7 separate regions of the Homo sapiens genome follow, and all the other regions are linked to region 4. Evidence: promoter capture Hi-C in 16 types of primary human blood cells and fetal thymus (Javierre and others, 2016). All regions are on one chromosome and are shown on one strand. Each heading gives the region's core, a stretch centred on a gene start or on the middle of the fragment in contact. The rest is flanking DNA. Distances are from core to core; before and after follow the strand shown.

Region 1 (2,700 bases), core at 196-2,695, 4.3 Mb after region 4:
TCTGGATCCTAGTTATTTTTTGGATATATGCTCTCTCGGTCTGTGGCTTGCCTTTTCACACTCTTACTGGTGATTTTAATGAAGAGAATATCTTAATTTTATTTATTTATTTACTTTATAGAGACAGGGTCTTGTGCTGTTGCCCAGGCTGGAGTGCACTGGTGTGATCGTAGCTCAGTGCAGCCTCAAATTCTGCGGCTCAAGCAATTCTCCTGCCTCAGCCTCCCAAGTAGCTAGGACTACTAATTCATGTATTTGTTTTTGTAGAGAATCTTGCTATATTGCCCCAGGCTGTTCTCAGACTCCTGGGCTCAAGCCATCCTCCCGCCTCAGCCTCCTAAAGTGCTGGTATTACAGGCATGAGCTACAGCATCTGGCCTGAGAATATCTTAATTTTAACGACCTCTACTATATCTATTGCCTTCTTTTGATTAGTGCTTTTGGTTTCCTGTTTAAAAAGTAGTTGTCTACTCCAAAGGGTAGACATGAGGAAGACATCATGAAGGTTTTTTTCATTGTTATACTCTAGAAGCTTTTGTGTTTTACCTTTAGTGCTATTTTGAGTTGATATTTGCATTTGACATGCGGTAGGAGTCAAAGTTCATTTTCCTATATTAATATCCAATTTATCAATGCCACTTATTAAAAGGAACAGCCCCTCACACAAACACACACACACTACATTGCAGTGACACTTTTATCATTTATCTGGTGATCATATTTAGTTGGGTCTGTTTCTAGATTCTATTTTATTTCATTGAGCTATCTTTGCCCCAATACCACAGTTTTAATATTTTGGCTTTATCATAAGTCTTATTATGTGGTAGTGTAGATATTCCAACTTCTTTCTTATTTTTCAAAGTTGTTTTGACCAGTCTTGGCCCACTACATTTACCTTTTTTTTTTTTTTTCGAGACAGAGTCTTGCTCTTTCACCCAGGCTGGAGTGCAGTGGCACGATCTCGGCTCACTGCAACCTCTGCCTCCTGGATTCAAGCCATTCTCCTGCCTCAGCCTCCCCAGTAGCTGGGATTACAGGCACGCACCACCACACCCAGTTAATTTTTGTATTTTTAGTAGAGACGGGGTTTCACCATGTTGGCCAGGTTGGTCTCAAACTCTTGACCTCGTGATCCGCCCTCCTCAGCCTGCCAAAGTGCTACATTTACTTTCTAATTTTAGAATCCCCTTGCCAACATCTATTTTAAACAACCCTGCTGAGATTCATATTGAGATTACATGAAATTTCTAGATCTAGTTGAGGAAAATTAACATCATTGTAATATTCAGTGTTATAATTCTTGAATATACTGTAATACATTTCTGCATTTATTTAGGTATTACTTTTTCTTGATAACGTTTTAGAGTATTCAGTTGGAGTTCTCTCTTTTTAAAGATTTATCCTTAATGTATTTTTTTGGCTCTCAATGCTGTTATAAATGTTATTGTCTTTTACATTCCATTTTTAATTTTTTTTACTATATAAAAGTAACATTTATTTTTCTCTATTGACCATGTGTCCACTGCCCTTGATAAATTTATTAATTCCAATAGCTTACCTGTACATTCATTTGAATTTTCTTTTTTTTCTTTTTGAGATGGAGTCTTGCTCTGTTGCCAGGCTGGAGTGCAGTGATGCGATCTCAGCTCACTGCAACCTCTACCTCCCGGGTTCAAGTGATTCTCCTGCCTCAGCCTCCGGAGTAGCTGGGACTACAGGCACGTACCACCACGCCCAGCTAATTTTTGTATTTTTAGTAGAGACGGGTTTTCACCATGTTGGCCAGATGGTCTCGATCCCTTGACCTCATGATCCACTCGCCTCAGCCTCCCAAAGTGCTGGATTACAGGCGTGACCCACCTTGCCTGGCCTGAATTTTCTATGTATACAGCCATGTTGACAGCCAATAACAGTTTAATTTCTTCCTTTTTTATTTTTTTAATGTGGTAAGTTATACAGTATTGATTTTAAACAACCTTGCATTCCTGCAATGATCAAAACTTGATCGTGATGTATGTATTATCCATTTTTTAACACGCTACATTTGGGTTATATTTGCTAATATTTTATTTAATATCTGAATTGATCTTCTTGAGAGATATTGACCTATAATTTTCCTTTTTAGTAATGTTCTTTCAGATTTTGGTATAAAGATGAGTTGGGAAGTGTTAACATTTTTTTTTAATTCCTGCAAGAGGTTAGACAGAACTGGTGTTATTTCATTCTTAAATGTTTGGAAGATACCAGTGAGGCTTTTTCTTTGTGGTATGTGTTTTAATTTTAAATTCCATATTTTTAGTAGTTATATTTTTATAACTACTTCTATTAAAGCTATATTTCTTCTTGTGTCTATTTTGGAAAGCTTTTAAGTAATTTCTCTATTTTATCTAAGTTGTCAAATTTACTAGCATCAAATTATTCAAAATATCTTCCTATCTTTTTAATGCCTGTAAGATCTTTAGGTATAGATTTACCATTTCTGATATTGGTGAAACTAATCTTAAAGAAGTTTATTCTGTGAGAACTAACAAATGACAGTTGACAGAATGAACAGCATCTTTAAAAATAGTTTCACTTAAAATTCTGAAATATTTCTTATTTGACTTTTTTCCCACTGCTTCTTGATAAAAACTAAGAACATAATGTTAAAATAGCATCATGAGTCAATCAAATGAAATCTAGGTGTTTTTGCTTTCAAAT
Region 2 (2,700 bases), core at 162-2,661, 4.3 Mb after region 4:
GCAGCTGTGTATATAAGTCCTCAAAATAGACCTACAATTGGGAGATTACCCTGGGTAAAAAGGGAGAAGTAGATAAAATTCAAGCTTGGGTACTCAACCAAGATATGAATCATAATAGCAATGCTATATAGCATTGCTTATTCTAGATTCTTAATATATACAATAATAGGCTGGGCACAGTGGCTCACACCTGTAATCCCAGTACTTTAGGAGGCCAAGGTAGGCAGAAACTCAGGCACAGAGAGGTGAAATAATTTACCCCGGTTCGCTCAGCTAACAAGTAGAAGAGTAGAAATGCTGGGATTTGAACCAAAGCAGCCTGTCTCCAAAGTCCATGCTTTCAACCACTAGACACTACTGCATCTCTGAGCCAAGTGCCCACGAGCTAGGATGTCTATTGGACCTGAAGTGAGATGAGAGTTCAATAAAAGTGTCACATAGGAGTAGGGTCCCCAGGGGGCCAGGGATGCAGCCTCTGGGATATGGACTCAGTAAGGGAAAAAATACAGCCACTAAGAAACTGAAACAAGAGGTTAAAAAAACAAACACAAAACTTGTTACTAAAGGGGATTCATGTAGCAAACAGGAGCCAGTTAGGAAGACTTCAGTTTAATGATAATAAAGTAGTAGTAGCCACCATTTATCAGGAGCCAGGCATGGCAGCAAGTGTTTTATACAGTTATGTAATCCACATGATCATATGAGTTGAGGATTATAATCTCCATTTTCTGGGTAAGAAAACTGAGGCATAGAGACACTTTACTACCTACAATCCCATGTCTAGCAGGTAGTGGAGCCAGAACTACAAACCCATGTCCATCTGGCTTCCAAGACTATGCCCTCAGTTCCAAGACTATGGCCCAACACTACTGGGCCATCATGGCAGAGAATCTAGTCACTGTGCAACAAGCAACAGTTGTTGTGTTGCGGTTAAATAGGTACAAATGCCAGGGATATGGAAACACAGGGTTTTAGGAATCTGGGAGGCAGCTACCTTCATAATTCACAAAGATATTAGTGTCCTGAATTAATGGTTGATTCAACCAAAGTCTGGGCCACTTGCCTATTGGAAGCTATTTATCTCAACTTTCCACTCAATTTCTTAGGTTCCACTTATTGTAGGTAATTCCATCATTCCAAGAAAACTCACTAAGTAATTTGTTTTAAAGATGAATGGTTTTCTGCGTGCATATTATGAGACTGATTGAATAACAAATTTCCTTTATTTAAAGACATACAAGTCCAATAAATTATCCAATTTATTGATTGGGGACATATGATAAAAAATGCATGTTTCATTTTGATCATAATTGCATTCCTTTCATCCATACAATTTAAGAGACATTTCATGGCTCCCGCTCATTTGTACTCATCCACACTACATTCCTAGTAGCCCTCGGCCCTCCATTTATTTCCAGCTGGTGCCAAGCCCTTACAGTGGTCATGTTACAATATGTAACTGTTATTGACACATAGCTTAGCTTCATCTCTTTAGGTTGCCAGCTGCATTTTTGTCATATCATATGAGCTGCTACTATCTGCTGTACAATCACAATTGATCAATCTATATGTCAGACTGGTAACCAAGAATTAAACCTTTCTCATTATCAATGAAAAAGGAAGATGCTAGGCACAGAAATATCATAGAAGAACAAAATCCATAGATAATTTTCAAAAATTGTCAGTAGTAATTAATACACTATCACAAACTCCATGGAGGCAGAGACTGTGTTTTACTCACCACTGTGTATCTGGCACTTAGCACAGTGCCTGGCACAGTAGGTGCTCAATTGCTATTAGTCATGAGAATGACCAATGAATGAATGAACCAGTAAGTATATGTTAAATGCCTCTTTATGTTTAGAATCTTCTTGCTGCTAACTCACATACATCCCCTGCTCCCTCAAAAGTATATCGTTTTCTCTACTTGAGACCACTAAACCAAATGCAAACAATAGAGGGAAAAGCAATGCAACCTACTTTCTTCACTGTGTGAATCTTGAAACGTTGCATATATTTTAAATACATCTTGGAACTAACACTTTCAAAGAGAGGTCTTCTGTGGCTTACAATGAGTTTTCCAGGAACTTCTCCCATAAAATATGCTTCAGTTAGATACTTCAGTCAAATCCCACTGTCAATTTAAACAATTCACTTGTGCTTTTCTTCTCTCTTTCTCATGAACAATGTGATCATGGTAGTTGGGACTCTTCCAACATATAATACACATCATTTAAAGTTTAAATTTAGAATTATGATCATCCAACTGTAGTTCTAAAGCATGTTTCCATTAGAGACTGTGAAGCATCTACTGCTTTCATCACACTAAGAGGTTTTATTCATTTACTTTTATCAATCCCAGCACTCTGGGAGGCCAAGGCGGGCAGATCACTTGAGGCCAGGAGTTCAAGACCAGCCTGGTCAACATGGCGAAACCCCGTCTCTACTAAAAATACAAAAATTAGCAGGCGGGGTGACGCACGCTTCTAGTCCCAGCTACTCAGGAGGCTGAAGAACCAGAATCGCTTGAACCTGGGTGGCAGGGGTTGCAGCGACCCAAGATTGGGCCACTTCACTCCAGCCTGGGTGACAGAGCAAGACTGTGTTTCAAACAAACAAACAAACAAACAAACGGTAATGGTTGATGACAAAAAACCTTTTATCGTTTCCTTCTTATTCTGTGCCACAAAACAAGCCAAA
Region 3 (2,700 bases), core at 201-2,700, 3.9 Mb after region 4:
CCATGCTGTGGAAGCTTTGTTCTTTTGTTCTTCACAATAAATCTTGCTGCTGCTCACTCTTTGGGTCCACACTACCTTTAAGAACAGTAACACTCAACACGAGGGCCCGTGGCTTCATTCTTGAAGTCAGTGAGACCAAGAACCCACCAGAAGGAATCAATTCCGGACACACTATTTTCCAACAAGTTCTCCATCTGGCTTCTATTTTAAATTCATTAAAAGTAGGATAACATCATATGGAATGTAAAAAATTGCCAAAACTGAGGGCAATTTATGCAACTGCTGAGATTCACTCCAGATCCTCAGAGGAACTTGCTATGTAATGAAAAAAGAGATACACAATCCATCATCCCATCACAGGAGGCAAAATGAACTAACTTCTAGGCCAGAGGAGAGAGTAACAAGGGAGGGAAGGATTCATTACAACTGGAGGATCCTGGAAGGCTTCCTAAAAAGGGGGCATTTGAGCCTAAAAAGGGGCCATTTGAGCCTATCGGATGATTAGCTTTTGGCAAGGAAAGAAGGGAAATGGCACCCATGATTTCCTGACTCCCAGAAAGCCCCTGTCCCAGCTCTGAATGTCCCAACTGACACATTCTCCCAGGCCCTACTTATTCTCTGCACCTCCCTTGGTATACCCCACTTTTCACAATAATCACTCTTTCTACCTTGCATTATAGTTAATTGTGTGCATGCCTTATTTCTCTTGCTAAGCCATAAGGTCTTTGAGGAAATGGAATCCATTCACTTCATTTCTGCTTCCCCATCCACTGAGCCCAGAACTGGCCCATCACCAGCCTCTAATATATGCCTGGAATGTATGGATAAATGAGTGTGAACTGGGCCAGTTTTAAAAAGTGTTCAGATTCCTTCAGACATTTATTTAATAATATGAATTAAAACATCAACTCTGTGTGAGGCATTTGTGCTAAGTGTTGAGGATAAAAGTGGTACACATGGGCATGGGCCTACCCTCAAGAAGCCGATCACATAAAGTGGTGGCAAACACTAAATAAATGAATAAATATTTGTTGAGTTGCAATGGTGACTATTTTTAAGAAGGAAAAATAGAGAACAATGACAGATGAAATGTACCTAGATTCACAAGGTGCCAGGCACTGGGCACTACCCACGTGTTAACTCATTTGGTCCTTATCACAGTCCTAAGAGGTACAACCTTTTTACAGATGAGAAAACTGAGACACAGGAGAGTCAAAGAACTCCCCAAGACTAATAGCTAGTAACTAGTGTGGCTAGTATTATGGGAGAATTTCACAAAGGGACCTAATCTAGTCTGTCTACTTAGGGAAGGCTTTCCCAGGGAAGTGACATCAAGCTGAGGCCAGAAGGGTGAATAAAGGTGGGCCAGGCAAAGAGGCCACTGTGGGGAGTGTTTTGGGTGGGAAGGCCTGGAGGAGGCCAAGGGCTTAGCTAACTTGAAGAACTGAAAGGAAAGCAGTGAAGCTGGTGGTGAGGTAGGCAGAGGCCATGCTAAGAAATTTGTATTTTATGCTAAAAACAATGTACACTTTAAGTAGAAAAGATGATCCGACTGGAGTTTTGAAAAGCTCATCCTGGCAGCTGTAGAGGAGAATGGAGGGGGACCCTGTCTCACATATTTCCTATATGTGGTTAGGAGACAGGATGGTGAGTTGAATTGGGTATTGGCAGTGCAGGTGGAGGGGTGTCAGATTTGCTATATTTAGGAGAGAGAAGCAAGAGAATTTGAAAATTGGTTATGGCAGCTGTGAGAAATGGAGTGTTGAAGATGGTGCTCCAGGATTCCGACTTGGGTGCACAGGTGGCTGGTGGTACATTTAGTAAGATGGGGAAGATGGAGTTCAGGTTTAAGGGGAAGATGAAGACTGAAGTCCTGGCCGTTATGAGTTTGAAGCCCTATGAGCCATCTACGCGGAGAGAGCTGTATACGCTCTTGGATGTGTGTTTAGCGGCCAGGCTGGGGTGGAGAGGTACATGTGGGAGTTGAGGCTTGTATCTGTGGACCCACAGAGAAGGGAGCCAAGCCCTGCCCCAAGGAGCCCTCATGTTTGCAGGTCCTGCCTGCTTCAAATGTTACTGGTGATAACCTACATGTCACATTTGACAGGGCTTCCAAACTAAGCCATCTAAGAAAGGTCTTATGATTCATGGCTTAGATCCTGTCCCTGAGTAAAAAATCTTACTGTGAGTCCTTCAAATCCTTTTGTCAGTTCCTCAAACTGCTGATGTACTGATTAGTATGTAAAATACTGACATTGAAAAGAACACTGACTTGTTTCTGAATCATATAAACTTTGATTTTCTTGTGCACAAAACATTTTAGCCTGTATGTTGTCATCTGCAGCCAGTGACTGTAACCTGTGTACCATACCCTCCGATGAAAAAAATCCCACCTCTGATATAAGGGGTCCTCCTCCCTTTTCCTAAACTTTCTTCTAAAACCCTTCCAACGTGTAACAAATTTTGAAACATGCCCAACTTTGCTGGTAAGTCTTCTTGGGTGGATCCTCACATTTAGCTTCCAATAAATCAAATTATTTCTACTTCAACAGCCTTAATTTCCGTGGACACTGGTCAGAGTATTTCCTCCTGTCTTTCCATCATCCACTTCCTATGAGCTGTTCAGAAGCAGCTCTCTGCAGCCCCAACACCCACCTACCTGCAGGCCCCCCTCTCTCTGCTGGCTCCCGGAACAAGGCT
Region 4 (2,700 bases), core at 33-2,532:
TTAAAACTCTGTATCAATGGTCTTATTTTAAATAACGCTATCAATTTACCTGTGTGCCAAAAATAAGTATTTCAAACATCTCAGAGGTGAAGAGTTCAAAAGGCATCAGTTTTCATCTCCTCCACAATAATGAAGGATGTTATTAATACAACCTCATTGAACTGAGCTTCTCTATCAAATGGGTCTAATTAACATTACATGCGTCCCAGGGTGGTTATGAAGATTAAATAAGATAAAGCAATAATGGCTGGCATGCAGAAAATATAAACTAAATGCTAGTTCAATCTGAAAACGTGTTGTCACTTCTCACGATACGCAAGGAATCATCTCACTTCTTTGTCAATCAAAATTTCAATTCACTGATCATTTCCCGTCCTTCACCTAATAGTCATTTTCGCTTTGGATCCTTAACTCGACATCTAGGTGCTGTAGATGACATTCACTCATTTTATACGGGAGTAGGCATGGTAGTAAAACGTGGAGGCCACAAGAAGAACAAGCAACAAATGCCGCTAGTAATAAAAAGATAACTAACGTACCACCAGGATGAACCTATCAAAACAGCGTGAAGATACAGAGTAATGTCCCTTACCAAGAACACTTGTAAGAGGTTTGTAACAGCGGATCGACTGAACACAAACTTCTACAAGGCAGAGCTTACATGCTAGGACAACCCGCTGCTCATCCCGGCCACCTCTCCCTCTCGCGCAGGCAATCACAGCCATCACTACTTCGGGAACTACAAAGCAAGCTCACCAGTACCTCGTTAATTTTTGCTTCCCCAGAGACTGGAGGGCCAGAGGAGAAACGTGTTCGTTCTAAATTCCAGGCGACTTAAAAGGAGTGCGGGGACGACGGGGGAAACACGTGGATCCATGGGAGCGTCTCTCTCCGCAGTGGCAGAGGACAGTCAGGCGCCGGGGCCGGGCGCTCGCCAAGGGAACGCGGCGCAACAGAGGGGCGGCCGGCGGGCTGCGCGGGCAGCCAAGGGAGGCCCAGGAGGGGCATGGACCTGGGGCCGCGCGAGGACGGCTGCAGGAGATCCGCGGACACCCTCCGGCCCAAAGGGCCTCCCCTGCTGATGAGGTGGAGGGGAGGGAGGGCTGGCGGCGCGTTCCTCTTACCGTCGGAATTGGTCTCAGGATCGAAGCGCTGACCGCAGCCCCGGTTGTAGCACAGCAAGGCCATTTTCTTTTCCCACCGTCACAGGCAAGGCCCAAACACCGGGAACGGCAAGAGGATGCGTTTGCCACTCCCGTGTCGCTAGCACCGGTCTGACGACTGAGGCGGCTACCGGCTTCCGGAAACGATCCGTTGCGTTTCAGGAACCTTCGCGAATTTTCCGGTCGCGCAGGCGCAGAGGAGAAGGGACGAGGCGGAGGTAGCGGCGGGAGGCTGGCACTAGCCCGGGCCACGATAGGTCGGACTACAGCTGGTAGCAACTGGGGGTCGGAAGTGGAGCCCAGACAACAGCGGAGGAGAAATTTCCGGGGCAGAAAATGAAGGTGTCCGAGAGACTGACAATTCTCTTCTGACTTCCTCAGTGCTAACTGGCTTTGGGTATCTCCTGCAGCAAAGTGGCCGCCCCGCCCTCTCATCCCCTGCGACCCAGCACCCTTCTTCCTTGCCTTGAGGCTGCGCCTTAGACAGCCCGGTGGGTATCTGTTTACCCCTTAGCACTAAGGGATAAGTGCACAGTAAGTGCAGAATCATACAGTGTTTCCAAATCCTCAGGGTAGACGTGTGAGCTTAGTAAATGAGAGGAATAGCGGACGAACCTCTCCGTGTGTTTGTGTCTCGAGTGCCCTCATCTCAGGAGCAATTTTAATAACTTAACAGTTGCGGTCACATTACTTTGAAAATACAAAAAACGTAGAAATCAGAGTAGCAAAGAAAATTATGGATCTGATGCTGTGCCAGAATTGATCACAGTTGCTCTAAAGCCCTGGGGTAATAGTTAATATTTCATGTGAGCCTCCACTTAAACGATTTATCAATACTCAGTACACCACTCTTGGAACAGCTAGTAAAACTTCAGGTGCATTATAAAAAGTACAGTAATGCATTGGCTTCAACTTGCATATTTCCCAAACATGGGCGTTTGCAAGAAAAGCAAACACTTTTTGATAACATATACTGAAGGATCTTAAAATAAGATCAGCAGCTTATAAGTGAACCTAAAAATCTATACACTGTTTCCATTGATCTCAAGGTTATTTAGAGATCTGCTCACGTCCTCCTACCCCTAAAGACTTTTTAGTTTTTCATATTCTCTTTCTCTTCTTCTACCTAGAAGTATTAAATTTTCATATTGTGATCCACCATAGATAGGTATGTTTTCTTCATTTAACCTAACGTGAGTATTTTTCTATTTTGTTTCATAGTCATTGTTACAAATGACGGAGTATTCTGTTGAATAAATGCACTGTAATTTAACCTTTCTCTAATTTCCCCAACTTTATTATATATAAGTTACAGTGCTCAACCTGTGTATTGTTTTTCTTATTTCGAATTTCCCCCTTTAGGAAAATTTTTGGAAAGCGACAGTTCTGGGGTAAAGGGCATAAGGCTTTTTAAATAACTTTAAGATTTTAAAGATATATAGAGCCAATTGCTTTCCGAAAGGTGGTACCAATTTACAATTGCACCGGCTGTGAATGTAATAGACCGTAGAAATTGATCATACACAATTGGAAATGA
Region 5 (2,709 bases), core at 30-2,529, 4.3 Mb after region 4:
GTATTTCAAAATGCCTTTCCTATGATTGTCATGTCCTCCTTTAAGGCTTTTCCCTCAAATTTATTACAAATTTAGTATTTTTAGTACTTGATGACTCTAATTACATGAATGCACCTGGAATGACATTTGTAACAGAAGACGGTCTGACTTGCTTTCAGTATTCACAAGTTCTTTCCAGTTTCCAAGTCTTTTCCTAGCAGTAATTTAGGGGAGACAGAGGAGTTTCATGTAAAGAGCATGCAGTTTGGAGTCAGAACCTGGGTATGACTCTGTGGCCTTGATGAAGCAAGTTACTTAAACTCTTGAGTTTTAGCTTTCTCCTTTACAATGCATGAATGCCTATCCCCCTACAAAACAAAGATTAAATGTGATGATGTATGCCAAGGTGCTTTGTATATTGTAAAGTGCTATATAATTATAAGATGTTCTAAATTTTCAAGGATCTAAACCAGGGATTGGCAAACGTTTTTCCAGGGAGTAAATATTTTACGCTTTGCATATATAATTTATGGAGGTGTTGAGAGGATAGATTAGACACTTGAAGTACTCAGGATAGTGCCTGGCATGTAGGAAGCACCTGGAAAATATTCGCTGTGATTACCATCAGTCCATTTTACCGAGGAAGGAGCCAAGGTCCAGGCCCACTGAAGGACTTGCATAACATTACAATAGCAGTGGCAGAACCAGCCATGCTTCTGCAAATCACAACCTCTTTGAGCCTCTGTCACCTGAACTGCAAAATGAGTGGGTTAGACAAAATCATCTGTTGGGACCTCCTAGTTCCACGTGCTATCATTCTACTAACTGGCACCCTAAGGTTGAAAGTGCTTATCTGCTTTCCAATGTGGCTTCCTTACAGTCTGGAACTGACAATATGCAGGAGCAGTAAACTGGCAGAAAACCAGGAATCAGAGAAAGAAAATATAATTTAACTTTAAAGATGTAAATTATATATATAGTATATTATATATATTTTTAAAGCTTTATATGCCTCAAATATCAGGGAAAGGAGCCAAGTCCTTGGTATTTAGTTTGGTGAATACTTGCATTGAATACATGTCAAGATGTCAAGTCATTTTTGAATGTGTCTCAGGGATTTCTATGCTACACATTCTTTTAACAAATCAAGTATTTATGTACACATGTTCAGATTTTTTGACAAAATGATTAAAATAATGAGATGGAAAATGACTCTGTTTATAATGTATATCCTCCATGCACTAATGTGTTCAGTCGTCACCCATGGGATATTTCTTGGCTTGGGGCAGTTTCTGTAAGTTCACTAGTTCTAGATTGGTAATTGGAATGTGATGGCTTTGCCTCTTCTGTGTTGCACAAAGTCCAATTCAGCCTGTCCTCTTGTTCTTTCTTGCCTGTCTTTTCCACTTTATTCTGAGGAATCATCTCCAAGGGCATAAGTAGTATACTCCTTTCTCTCAGTCCAGTTTATTTTCCTGAGTGCTCTGATGTGATGCCCTCCATGTATTGTCTCTAGCTCCTGTTCACTAAATTAAATGCCATTTTAAAAAGAGTAGGATCAGAACTGGGAACATGATGATGGGCAGAGAGAAGGGGAGGCAAGCTTTCTTCTTAACAGCCGATGCTTAAATTATTGAAATAGGAAAATACGAAGTGGTAATAAACACTAACTATTGTCTCTTCTTTCCTACCTGCCCTCCTCCAACACCACACACACGCACGCACGCACACACACATGCATGCACACACACACACTCTGACATGTTCATTTAAGCACAGACTTTGAAAAATTATGATGGCCAGCTGAAGATAGGAGCAGGATTGGCAAGAAAAAAGGATTCAATAATGAATGAGTAAAAAGAAAAGTGCATTGTAAAATAGAGCAGGTGGTGAATATAGATGGGGAGTGAAGAGGAAAAGAAAGATGGGGGTGGGGATAAAAGTACAAAGTGAAGAGACGATCAGATAGAAGAAAGGCAGAGGCTAGGAAACATGAGAAAAGTAGAGGAAAGATAAGTGTTAAACGGCAAGAGTGGCAGGACAAAGGAGGAACATATGCGGCAAGAATGAGGAAATAGGTTAAAATCTACCATTCTCTGCCACAATGCTGAAAAGAAACCTTTGCTCCAGCTTGAAACGCAGCATCTGTCAGCAAATGGGGAGTCAAATCAAGAAGTCTGAACTCACTGACAGGGAAAGTCAGAAACTTAACAAGAAATCACCTAACATTTTAGCAGAAATATAGAACTGTCCCTTGATTCATGACAACAGATTCTTGAACTTGAATGAATGGTCCTTTTCTTCATCTTGGAAAATTCGCATTCATGGCCACTTTTTCATTTCTAGACAGCATATTTCATCTGTACTCAATATTCACTTTTAAAGAAGTATATTTTGTTATGTTGTCATAATCACCAATTTACTGTTTTAAAGAATAGAAGGCCAGGTGCGGTAGCTCACGCCTGTAATCCCAGCACTTTGGGAGGCTGAGGTGGGCAGATCATGAGGTCAGGAGATGGAGACCATCCTGGCTAACACAGTGAAACCCCGTCTGTACTAAAAATACAAAAAATTAGCCGGACGTGGTGGTGGGTTCCTGTAGTCCCAGCTACTCGGGAGGCTGAGGCAGGAGAATTGCTTGAACCAGGGATTTGGAGGTTGCAGTGAGCTGAGATCATGCCACAGTACTCCAGCCTGGCGACAGAGCAAGACTCCATCTCAAAAAAAAAA
Region 6 (2,700 bases), core at 166-2,665, 3.9 Mb before region 4:
GGTGGGTATGAAGAAGACATGGAAAATTAGTTAGGAAAGGCAATAATGCTAAATATTAACATTTATTGAGTAAGCTACATTCTGGCCACTATTGAGTACTTTACGTGTAAGAACCCTCAAAACAACTTTATGAGGTAGATACTACTATTACTTCATTTTAAAGATGGGGAAAAGGAGGTATGGGAGTGTTAGGTTAACTTGCCTGAGATTATGTAACTAATAAATGGCAGAGATGGGCTCTGAACCCAGGTAGTGTGGGTGCCTTAATTTATGAAGTGGTCTTCATATGAATGGCCTTTTTATTCTGAAGGTTCTAGGACTTTTTAGATAGTAAGTTGGAAACATTGGTAGATCCTTTCCTACCTCTTCACCTTTGGCACAGCTATCTCAAAGGAGTATCGGTGATAAGATAGGTGATCAGTTTAGGGATCCACAGTGGAGGCCAGAGGACTGTTCCAAACACTGATCCCCCATATATAAACTGAGAACTGGGAAGACAGACCTGCTTTACGGCTGGTGGCCAAGCTCAGATATTTCAAATTGGACAGAGACCCTTTACTATCCTATTCAAGAAGAAAAGGAATTGGAGCTGTGAAAGGGAGAATAAGTATTGGTGGCAATCGGTACTTAATGCCAGTATTTTTTTTTTTTTTTTTGGCTATTGTTTTGTATTTCCTATGAAACTTTTCTGCAGATCCACATAGAAAAAAAATAGACATTTTTACAATAAAACTCCCACTAATTAAGCACAGCCAAGCACTGTTTTAAGTGTTTTATACATATTAGCTCATTTAATCCTCACAGCAACCCTAGGCAATAGGCTCATTATTTGTCTTTTGCAAAGGAGGGGCACTGAAGCACAAAGACATCTACAACTCGTCCACAATTGTACAGCAAATGAATGGGAGAACTAAGTGAAGCTGGAAAGAACTACTATAAATTGTAGACAAGTACAAAACAATTGGTTAAAGATTAATACTTCTGAGACACTGTGTAGCAGAAAGAAACCCGGATTTGGATTAGGACTTGAATTCAGCCTCCAACATTTACTGCTGTGTAAAGATTTGAGGCTGATCACTCCTATAAAATTTGGATTATAATACTTACCTCATAGGGTTTTTGTAAAGATCTAGTGACGTGATTATTGTAAAAGTGCACCGTTAATCTCTCAGATGTCACAGAAACGTTAGAAGCATCTCTTCCCAGGATTGTACATGGAAATGAAGGATCCACAGATTTTGTGGCTATAAAACACCCGGACTACCGATCCCAGTGTGCAAAGCCTCCAGGCTTACCTTCCCGGAAACTGGCGCGGTGCCCTCTGGGACTTGTTCTGGGACTTGTAGTCTTGTACTGGCGCTGGCCCGCCTTTCTTCCTTAGTGGGGAAAACCGGGTGTAAGCCCCGGAAGTACTTGTTGCCTGAGCAGTGGGCTGCTTAGGAAGAGAAGGTCAGAGTTCGCGGGGGCAGAGGCATTCTTGCCGCTGGCCCAGTCACTATGTAGTGGAGGGGCAGACACCCTCCCGCAAATTCTGGAAGGTTCTTAGTCTCGACTAGGGCAGTAGCCCCAGGACTCCTAGTCGCCGGCTTCAGGTCACTGCCGGCTGAACGGAGCTGCCGTCGCCATGTTTGGCTGCTTGGTGGCGGGGAGGCTGGTGAGGATGGGACCGGGTGATATCAGGAAGGGGTCAGGATACCGAGGGCGAAGCCCTACGGCAGGGAGGGTGCGCAGGCGCTAGGGATGCGGGGAAGCCCACTTATTATATTTTGGGTGGGTATGTGAGGATGGAGCGTGGGAAGCTGGGTGCTCTCCTTTGCCCAGCTCTATTCAGATTCTTTCGAATAGTAGTCACAGTATAAGTTGGCATTTATTAAGTGTGCATTTTGTACCAAGTACTGGGCTAAGTGCAATGCACGCCTTTGGTCACTCAGCCTTATGTGTGGCGCTTATTTGGCACTTTGAACTTAATCCTCATAACTCGTGAGATGGTCTTTATCTTTGACATTTTGCAGTTACAGAACTAAGTTCAATCGCCAGTATAAATACCTTCTTTATTAACTTGAGGTAGAGGTGAATTTGGGATTGAATTTGGTCTATAGCAAACTGTTTTTCAAAGATTAAGGTGCTCAGGGAATGTATATCTTTTGGGTCCCTTTGGAAGAACCCGAGTAAAAATAAGCTTAATTTAATTGGAAGTTGGCTGAAACTTAACGTGTGAGCCGTATCTGAGATAACCAGAGAAGGATGCGAGTAGTGTGTTTCCTTATGGGTCAAAATAGATAACTTACCTTGCCAAATTGTTAGAGTAAATGAGAACAGCACCTGGAATTCTTTAGGAATAATCTGGAAGGTGAATCTTGTTTGTTTCCTTAGAAACCACACAGACATCAATTTTCAGGCCTGATTCCTTTCCCCTAGAAGTATTTTTCCTTCTTTTTTCTCCTGGCTTTTTAAAATGTTGCAGTCCCTTTGCTGAATTGTCTTTTTTTCCCATCAAGTTTTGATAATGTATTGTATTCTGTACATATACAGTTCTAAGAAGCCAGAAAGATAAGTTGGAGATGACTAGCCTCATAAAGTTTGTCTCTTGAATGACTGGGAGACCCCTGTGGTGATGGTGGTAATTCATAATCCTGGTGAGATAATTTTGCCCTGCTCTTAATAGGGAAAAAGGACAAACCTGGAATGATTGTGTGACTC
Region 7 (2,700 bases), core at 80-2,579, 4.0 Mb before region 4:
GAGGAGTGCTTAGTAGTGCCTGGAACATTGGAAGTACTGAACAAATGACTGCCGTCATTGAGACCTCAACTTTAATTTTTTTTCGGCTTCTTTATTTCAAAGTCTTCACTGCAGAAACCTCTCATTCTGACCTGCCTTTGCTTTACTTCCTTTTCTCATTCTCAACCAAGAGTTCTCTCTTTATCTACAAAAGAAAGAGTGACTTGCAATCTGCAGATAAGGAAACTGATGTCCTGGTTATAAAGTTATCATGCAGAAATAATTCAAGTATACTAGAATTTTATGGATGGTGCACTCTAGGTGGGTAATGAGGTCTAGAAGAGAAAAGATATACAACATCAAGCAGGTGCCCAAGAAATGGTAGGTCCCTTTCTCCCTTCCTGCCTCCTCATTTTTACAGATGAGGACATTTTTACAGAAGCCCGAATAGATAAGTAGTCACAATCATGTTCTAAGAAAAACAAAAAAAAGGTGGCGGATGCCGTATTTTATTTTTCGTCATCACTCTCCTTTTCCTGCTGCTCATTCAGTTATGGTTTCATGACCCATATAATAATTCCACAAGGCTCACCAATGTTATCTGGCACCTGCTAGAGAATAGATATAGTAACAGAGGCAAATATTTTGGTGAAGTTTAACAGTTGTGTTGCCTTCTAGAATTTCATTGTATCTGATGTGCAAAAACAAGCAAAACATTGTCGGTTAAGTATCACAATCTCATAATGGAGATGAGCACTGATTCTTAGGCCTTGGCGTAGTTCAGGGCCTATCCTTTAGCAGCTAAAAAGAGCACTTTGGCTGTAACTCATTGGAGTCTAGTCTCATAATGTTAGGATATTTCTATTTAAGTCTTAACCACTATTGGTAGCAACTGGAAGGATAATCATTCATTACAATAAATAGTCAACAGAATAAATATCCGACAAGAATTTACGAAGCGTCTAGAGTATAATTCGGTAGCGCTTTGAAATCCACCCTGGGATTCGGAAACCGGGTAGAAAACTACCTGGTTCAGCAAACGAGAATTCAAACAGAGGAGGGGCTTGGAGGAGGCGGGTTTCGACGAACCCAGCGCAAGAGTACGCCACGGCGCCTGCGCATCCCCTGACGGGTACTTTCCATTCGCCAGATGGGGGAAGCCAGGGGGAAGCAGGTTACTGTTTTTGCATTTCTATCTTCAAGGAAGAATTAGGTTATGAATAGTTCCGTGAATAGTCAGGAAGCGCTGTCCTCCAAGTTCAAGATTAAGGAAACGTGGCATGCACAGCTAAAGCAAGAGGTGACGTCTTGTATCTTCCCCCGTTTCCTGGGACATTGGTGGTGTAGCCCATTCCACAGACTTTCGCTCCCTAGCAGCGGGTCGGAGATCGAAGGAACGGGCCAATTGCGGCTGAAACGTCTTTGGAAGGAGGAAGGGGGTGAGGGAGCATCCCTTTGAGTTTCGCCTCTTCTCGAGGCGGTGGTGGGAAGGGAGACATACTTAATACTGCCCTCTTAATCCAACGGACCTTACATCGTGTAGACTGCCGGGAGGGCGGCGGGAAAAGGGCAAGACGGGAGTTGGGGAAGGGAAGGAGCCAGGAAGCCGCGCGGGAGGGCGCGCGCGCGCGCCCCTTTTTCAGCAGTGTGGCGGGGTCGCACGCACGCCCGCCTCGGCGGCTGGGCGCGATTTGCGACAGTGGGGGGGGCGGTGGAGGTGGCGGCGGCAGCGGCAACTTTGCGGCAAGCTCGGGCCGGGCTTGCTTGACGGCGGTGTGGCGGAGGCCCCGCCCCAGGCGGCAGGAACCTGGAGGGAGGCGGAGGAATATGTCCGAGAGGGAAGTGTCGACTGCGCCGGCGGGAACAGACATGCCTGCGGCCAAGAAGCAGAAGCTGAGCAGTGACGAGAACAGCAATCCAGACCTCTCTGGAGACGAGAATGTAAGTGCAGCTTCTGGCAGTTACGAGACTGCGGAGTGAAAGTTTTAAATTCTTTTAAAACGGGGGGCGCGGGGACGAGCGGGCTGCTGTGGGGGGAGGGAGAGGTGTCACTCAGGAAAACGCGGGCGTGCGGGAGAAAATTGAAATTGCCTACGGGGATTTTGATGTGGGGCCGAGAGCAAGCAGGAACTAGGCAAAGGAGAGTGGTTCTAGTGATTGCGTGGGTCTGAGAAGTCTGCCCTGAAATCAGTTTGCATGTGATGGGGAGTGTTTTGGCCTTTGGGGGGATTTAAGGGGAGAGTGCGGGTCTGAGATTCTAGTAGTTTAAAAGGCACGTTAGAGACTTTTCTAAGAAAGTTGGAAGGACGGGGCAGAGTTAGGGACCCTGTTAAAGGAGCGTAAGGGTTGTCACTCTAAGACCCTTGTGGAATTTTCAGGATGGAAAGTGATCTTCGATTTGCGGAGTTTGGGAGACTTTATTAAAGGGGGTTTTGTGTCCGCCTCCGTCCTGTCCGCGGAGACCGGGTGCGCCTGAAGGTCGCCTTTTCTGTAGGAGGAGCCGAATTGAGAGGATCGATTTTTGATTTGGGGGTGGGGAGTGACTACCTTTGAGGAAGTAAGAGTGGGTGATTTCTTCTTTGAACGTTTTTACTTAAGATAAAGGTGAGGGGGGTGGCGACCTGGAAGATTTTGGGCAACAGTGGTATAGGCAGATGTATTTAAGTGTGGGTTCCTGGCTTCGCCAAGTGCGCGATGTTTTGCAATCAGATTTTTTTAAGC

What was found. Contacts are between HindIII fragments. The CHiCAGO score rates a contact against its expected background, and 5 or more counts as called.
Region 1: a fragment that was not itself captured here is called in contact with the fragment with the promoter of CHORDC1 in region 4 in 5 of 17 cell types (total B cells, naive CD8 T cells, naive CD4 T cells and 2 more); the score reaches 11.7 in total B cells.
Region 2: a fragment that was not itself captured here is called in contact with the fragment with the promoter of CHORDC1 in region 4 in 1 of 17 cell types (activated CD4 T cells); the score reaches 5.8 in activated CD4 T cells.
Region 3: a contact is called between a fragment that was not itself captured here and the fragment with the promoter of CHORDC1 in region 4, in 3 of 17 cell types (non-activated CD4 T cells, total CD4 T cells and activated CD4 T cells). The highest score is 7.5, in non-activated CD4 T cells.
Region 5: a contact is called between a fragment that was not itself captured here and the fragment with the promoter of CHORDC1 in region 4, in 4 of 17 cell types (non-activated CD4 T cells, activated CD4 T cells, total CD4 T cells and 1 more). The highest score is 7.7, in non-activated CD4 T cells.
Region 6: a contact is called between the fragment with the promoter of HIKESHI here and the fragment with the promoter of CHORDC1 in region 4, in 1 of 17 cell types (non-activated CD4 T cells). The highest score is 7.3, in non-activated CD4 T cells.
Region 7: the fragment with the promoter of EED here is called in contact with the fragment with the promoter of CHORDC1 in region 4 in 1 of 17 cell types (non-activated CD4 T cells); the score reaches 5.7 in non-activated CD4 T cells.

The regions. Positions count from the first base shown.
Region 1 is chr11:94,507,868-94,510,567 of GRCh38, forward strand. It overlaps a transcript of MRE11 not described here. Among named protein-coding and RNA genes, the nearest start is that of C11orf97, 3.2 kb to the right of the region's middle. The HindIII fragment of the contact is 1,830 bases long and covers 531-2,360 here.
Region 2 is chr11:94,528,830-94,531,529 of GRCh38, forward strand. All of the region lies in intron 3 of C11orf97 (chromosome 11 open reading frame 97), which reads left to right. Among named protein-coding and RNA genes, the nearest start is that of FUT4, 14 kb to the right of the region's middle. The HindIII fragment of the contact is 2,658 bases long and covers 83-2,700 here.
Region 3 is chr11:94,125,667-94,128,366 of GRCh38, forward strand. No RefSeq gene overlaps it. Among named protein-coding and RNA genes, the nearest start is that of PANX1, 1.8 kb to the right of the region's middle. The HindIII fragment of the contact is 2,877 bases long and covers 13-2,700 here.
Region 4 is chr11:90,221,767-90,224,466 of GRCh38, forward strand. CHORDC1 (cysteine and histidine rich domain containing 1) reads right to left here and starts at 1,283. Exons shown (of 11, transcript NM_012124.3): 1 at 1,125-1,283. The coding sequence starts at 1,188. LOC124902812 (a long non-coding RNA gene) reads left to right here and starts at 1,393. Exons shown (of 2, transcript XR_007062978.1): 1 at 1,393-1,654. The HindIII fragment of the contact is 11,072 bases long and covers 1-2,700 here.
Region 5 is chr11:94,548,708-94,551,416 of GRCh38, forward strand. It overlaps FUT4 (fucosyltransferase 4), which reads left to right. Exons shown (of 1, transcript NM_002033.4): 1 at 1-1,188. The region is part of intron 4 of PIWIL4-AS1 (PIWIL4 antisense RNA 1); the gene reads right to left. Among named protein-coding and RNA genes, the nearest start is that of FUT4, 6.1 kb to the left of the region's middle. The HindIII fragment of the contact is 601 bases long and covers 980-1,580 here.
Region 6 is chr11:86,300,825-86,303,524 of GRCh38, forward strand. It overlaps HIKESHI (heat shock protein nuclear import factor hikeshi), which reads left to right and starts at 1,416. Exons shown (of 5, transcript NM_016401.4): 1 at 1,416-1,654. The coding sequence starts at 1,625. The HindIII fragment of the contact is 4,753 bases long and covers 1-2,177 here.
Region 7 is chr11:86,243,424-86,246,123 of GRCh38, forward strand. EED (embryonic ectoderm development) reads left to right here and starts at 1,330. Exons shown (of 12, transcript NM_003797.5): 1 at 1,330-1,920. The coding sequence starts at 1,807. RefSeq lists enhancers at 783-1,313, 1,314-1,842. The HindIII fragment of the contact is 4,943 bases long and covers 1-2,700 here.